Regions from separate parts of the Homo sapiens genome. Here region 1 is linked to region 2. Evidence: promoter capture Hi-C in 16 types of primary human blood cells and fetal thymus (Javierre and others, 2016). All regions are on one chromosome and are shown on one strand. Each heading gives the region's core, a stretch centred on a gene start or on the middle of the fragment in contact. The rest is flanking DNA. Distances are from core to core; before and after follow the strand shown.

Region 1 (2,707 bases), core at 107-2,606, 1.8 Mb after region 2:
GTCATCTGCATATGCCTGGGCCTCCTGCAAGGAGTGGGATGTATTAGTGCTCAGAATGTAGGGTGGGAACGAGTATTGCCTTTCCACTCCCATGCAGCACAACAGCTAGGCAAAATCCTAGGTTCCCTCCCCTTAATTAATACCCCTTTGAGCCAGCTAGCCTAGATGCATAATTTAATGACAACTCCCTCAAGATGACCCCATGTCCACTCAGTCCAACACACAAATGTCAGAAAGCTTAATTATAGGGGAGAGGGTAAGTTAGTTGGGGGCTTTTGGGTTGTGACACTTGAATAGTCCCTTACCACAAATTTAATTGCTCCCTCCTTCCTGTTTTCACACTGGTACCCCCACAGCTGGTACCTCCCTAACCCTCTGCTCTGGAGTTTTCTCCTGACTCCTTTGAAAATCTCCTGGCTGTCATTAGGGTCACAGTGTTGCTGTATTTAACTTGGTGTAGAACTGGGGAATGAGACAATGAATGTCCTCTGTTGACGTTTTCAGAGAGGGCTGGTTTGGAAAAAAAGAGGTCCCAGGAACAGAGGAAGTGTTAGAGAGGAACTCCACGGGCCACCTTACTTCATACTCCACCATACGTTTGTTGGCCAGGTCAGCTTTGTTCCCTGCCAGGGCAATAACGATGCTAGGACTGGCCTGTCGCTGTAGTTCCTTCACCCATGTCTTTGCTCGGGCAAAGGTTTCCTAGGAAAACATGAAGAGAATGAGTAGGCTGGAATGACTGCCAATCCATATCCATCACCTTTTAAAATGAGTCTCAAAATTCACCTCTTCTAGGTGGTCTTCCCTCAGTGAAACCACAGGTCTCTGATAATTCATTATCTGTCTTCTTAGCACTTGGAAGCATAATTTGTACTCTTATTTGCTATTTCAAGAACCCGTTTTCTGCCCCCTTACCCCCTGCCCCAAACTAACTCCTCTAAATATAAGCAAGGACAGTCTTTTTTCTTTTTTTTTTGAGGCGGAGTTTTGCTCTGTCGCCGAGGCTAGAGTGCAGTGGCTCGATCTCGGCTCACTGCAACCTCCGCCTCCTGGGTTCAAGCGATTCTCCTGCCTCAGCCTCCCGAGTAGCTGGGACTACAGGCGCGCACCACCACGCCCAACTAATTTTTGTAATTTTAGTAGAGACGGGGTTTCACCATGTTGGCCAGGATGGTCTCAATCTCTTGACCTCATGATCCTCCCGCCTTGGCATCCTAAAGTGTTGGGATTATAGGCGTAAGCCACCATGTCCAGCCAACAAGGACAGTCTTCTTAGCTCACTTACCTGATTAGTAATGTCGTAAACCACGATTGCAGCTTGGGCACCCCTGTAGTACATGGGGGCTAAGCTGTGATATCGCTCCTGCCCAGCTGTGTCCCAGATCTCAAACTTCACTGTTGTGTCATCTAGACAAACGGACTGGGTGAGGAAGGCCGCTATGGATGAGAGAATGGAGGGGAAGATGCTGTAAGTGGGAGGATGAATGGGAACATCCCTCCCCCCCTTCAAAATGTAACTGCCCTACACTAAGACCAGTCACCACCCAGGATAGTCAGCTACAGGAAAAGGTTTTGAGTTCTCCTTACATGTAAGTCTTGAAACCAGGATTAAGACTGCCCTTGGCTAAGTCCTTCCTGCCAGAAATGTCACTAGCTAAGGAATGGGGGTACATCATAAACTAAGAGGGACAGAAGAACTGGCACTTATACGAGTCATCCTTCTTCTAACCAAAATAGGAGAATAACAAATGACAGAGAAAATAGCTTCAGATAAAAGTCACATCAAGAATTAATTAGAAGATTGGGCTGGGCACGGTAGCTCACGCCTGTAATCCCAGCACTTTGGGAGGTGGGGGCTGAGGCAGGTGGATCACCTGAGGTCAGGAGTTCGAGACCAGTCTGGCCAACACGGCAAAACCCGTCTCTACTAAAAATACAAAAATTAGCCAGGCGTGGTGGTGGACACCTGTAATCACAGCTACTCGGGAGGCTGAGGCTGGAGAATCCCTTGAACTTGGGAGGTGGAGGTTGCAGTGAGCCAAGATGGCGCCACTGCACTTCAGCCTGGGCAACAAGAGCGGAACTCCGTCTCAAAAAACAAACAAACAAACGCAAACAAACAAAAGAATTAATTAGAGGATTGGCTGGGCGCAGTGGCTCATGCCTGTAATCCCAGCACTTTGGGAGGCCAAGGCAGGTGGATGGCTTGAGGTCAGGAGTTCGAGACCAGCCTGGCCAACATAGTGAAACCCCGCCTCTACTAAAAACACAAAAGTTAACCAGGCATGGTGATGGACGCCTGTAATTCCAGCTACTTGGGAGGCTGAGGCAGCAGAAGTGCTTGAACTGGGGAAGCGGAAGTTGCAATGGGCAACCACTGCACCACTGCACTCCAGCCTGGGCAACAGGGTGAGACTCAGTATCCAAAAAAAAAAAAAAAAAAAAAAAGAATTAATTAGAAGATTTTAAAGCTTGATGGCAAGTCCCATCATTATCAATATTATTTGGCTGTTACTTTTTCATATAATCTGCTGCAGGTCCAGGAATACATTTCCAAGATGACTAATAAAAAGGGGAAAGAGGCCAGGCACGGTGGCTCATGCTTGTAATCCCAGCACTTTGGGAGGCCGAGGCGGGTGGATCACTTGAAGTCAGGAGTTTGAGACCAGCCTGGCCAACACGGTGAAACCCTGTCTCTATACAAATA
Region 2 (2,762 bases), core at 93-2,592:
TTGTAACGGTTTGTAGCCTAGGAGCAGCTGGCAATTCCATATAGCCCAGGTTGTAGTACAATATACCATCTAGGTTTGTGTAGGTACTCTATGATGTGCATAAGCCAAAATCTCCTAACGACGCCATTTCTCAGAATGTATCTTCCTATTAAGAGACGCATGACCGTACAGGCAAAAACTACACAACTCTGAAAGATTAAGATGTCTAAAGTCAGCCGGGCGCGGTGGCTCACTCCTGTAATCCCACCACTCTGGGAAGCCGAGGCGGGCGGATCACCTGAGGCCAGGAGTTCGAGACCAGCCTGGCCGACACGGCGAAACCCCATCTCTACTAAAAATACAAAAAAAAATAAAAAATAAAAAATAAAATAGCCGGGTGTCGTGGCGCACGCCTGTAATCCCAACTACTCAGGAGGCTGAGGCAGGAGAATCGCTTGAACCCGGGAGGCGGAGGTTGCAGTGAGCCAACATCGTGCCATTGCACGCCGGCCTGGGCCACAGAGCAAGACTCCGTCTGAAAAAAAAAAAAAAAGTCTAAAGTCAGACAGTGTGGGGGCCCCACAATTTGACTCCTGAACAATCTGACTCCAAAGCTCACACAAACCCTTTCAGCTCCAGGCAACAAGAAACACCGTAACAGTCTGGTTTGTTAATCCTGGGATACTCAACTGCTTTCAAATAAGACAAAGTCAAGGCCAAGGTTGTCATTTAAGCCAGATTTCCACTTAGGACTGTGCCATTATGGTCACTGAAGAGCAGTCTAACTTTATGCTCCCCAGCGTGACCGCCCCAAGAGTCTGAGGTCGAGCTCTAGTACTCCGCCCTGCACCCCTCCACACACACACCTGTTTGAGGTCCCCGCCACAAGTCTCCAGAGCTTTCTTGCAATTTACAAAGGAGTAGCCTGTTTTCCGCCGCAGCTTCATGAGGAGCTCCTTGCTGGAGGCCGAGGCAGACAGACGGGGCCCAGCATAAAATGTGTGCCTTGGCTGGGGCGACTGACGCAGAAGAGACCCAGCCTAGATGAGATAAGAAAGGGATGAGGAGCAGGAAGCAGCAAACTCCAGAGGGTGAAGGGTACACGGGCAGGGAAGCGACCTTAGGGAGCGGACAGTGTGCAAAGGGGGGTGCACCGGGGCTGGACTGGGCAGAGGCAATGCTGTCGGGGAAGGTGAGATGGAGTCAAACGAGGTTGGGAGGAAGGGAAAGGTACAGGCGCACAGGAGAGCTGCAGGGACAGCAGGTCGGTACCAGCACCAGGACTTCTCACCGGGTAGCTCCCGGTCCGCGCGACCAGAAACACGCGCAGCGACCGCAGCAGCGACATCTCTCTAGCCGCGATAAACACCCTCCGGCGGGCGCACTGGTGAGGCAACAAACCTACGGCGCGGCGGAAGGGCCAGAATTCTCCAGCGGAACGCACCAAACGAGTATGGTGCCACCTGCTGGCCGGAGGAACACAGTCCTCGCCTCTACTTGATTTCTTGAGACGACACATTTCATACGGGAATTACCCCCCACCTCCCACCCCAGGTAAAATAACAGAAACCAAGAAATAAAGTCGTCACAAAACAACAACACAAGAAATGTGGGTAACATTTTATGTTTATTTTCAATGCGCATTTATATTCATTATCCATTTATGACTCACAACAAACTTGTGTGGTTGGTGAATGGGTTCGAGAATTTGTCCAAGGTCACCTAGGAAGGCAGGGGTGGAATCCATTAAACAAAGCGAGTAAATATTTATTGAATGAGCACAATATCTGTTGAACACCTGTTGTGTGCCAGGAACTGTGTTAGGCTTCAGGGGTTTAGACAGGAGTAAACCACAGCCCTACCCTCCAAGGTAATTTAATGGTGAGAAAATGAGAATCACAAATGTCCATGCAAGACAAATTAAGGTCCCATAAGATGAACCTTATGGGTCTCAGGGAGAAAGAAATCACATTCAAGCAAGAGGCTCAGGAAAGAGGCAAAGAATAATGAAGATTTTGACAGGTGGCAATAGCCTTTCAGGCAGAGGATTATCATAAAGAGTGTGAAAGAAGTCAGAAAACTTTAGTGTGGTTTTAGAGAACAAAGAGTACATCTTTTGTAATTTGGCCAGAGGTCCAATACACGTAGCAAAGGAGTAGGAAATGCAATAGGAAGGTAATTTTGGATCACATGGACACAGACTAAGTACCAAGCAGAGGAGCTTGTTCTTGCTTCTACAGGAAGTGAAAGCTAATCAGAGCTAATTTTGGAAGATCACAAGAGTTTGCGGAATGGACTGAAGGAGAAAGCATGGAAGCAGGGAGTCCAGAGAAGGTGACTATGTGCCTAAGCAGTAAGTAAAGAGAGCCCCAACCAGAAGTACCAATGTGGGAAGAGAAAAGAGGTTAAGGCAAAACACATTAGGAACTGTGTTAGGCTTCAGGGGATTAGAGATTAGGAAGGAAGGACTGATGAAGCTAAAGAAAAATCAAAGATGAAAAGAACTTAGTACTAGGTACAGTATTCTTCTGCACACAATGATGTTCCGTGATCAAGGCTCTAACTCTGGAAAGCATGAAGAAATACAGTCCAAAGGACAGCTCTGCAGCCTTAGCTTCAGAGCTAGGAGGACTTGACCCAGTTAGAGCCATGGTTCCACTAGACTCTATCTCTAAAAAGCAGGAAATGGGTGGTTTGAGGCTTCTTCCTTCTCAGCTCCTGAGTAAAAGTTGGGTTCTTGCACAATAGATTTTTAAGGCTTAATTCTTTCTTAAAAAAAAAAA

The links. Contacts are between HindIII fragments. The CHiCAGO score rates a contact against its expected background, and 5 or more counts as called.
Region 1: a contact is called between a fragment that was not itself captured here and the fragment with the promoter of TSFM in region 2, in 1 of 17 cell types (monocytes). The highest score is 5.7, in monocytes.

What each region holds. Positions count from the first base shown.
Region 1 is chr12:55,988,677-55,991,383 of GRCh38, reverse strand. It overlaps RAB5B (RAB5B, member RAS oncogene family), which reads right to left. Exons shown (of 6, transcript NM_002868.4): 3 at 1,286-1,437; 4 at 580-702; 5 at 1-24. Among named protein-coding and RNA genes, the nearest start is that of SUOX, 7.2 kb to the left of the region's middle. The HindIII fragment of the contact is 2,234 bases long and covers 240-2,473 here.
Region 2 is chr12:57,781,367-57,784,128 of GRCh38, reverse strand. TSFM (Ts translation elongation factor, mitochondrial) reads right to left here and starts at 1,342. Exons shown (of 6, transcript NM_005726.6): 1 at 1,271-1,342; 2 at 846-1,019. The coding sequence starts at 1,327. It overlaps EEF1AKMT3 (EEF1A lysine methyltransferase 3), which reads right to left. Exons shown (of 3, transcript NM_015433.3): 3 at 1,588-2,762. RefSeq lists enhancers at 1,289-1,358, 712-1,581. The HindIII fragment of the contact is 6,425 bases long and covers 1-2,762 here.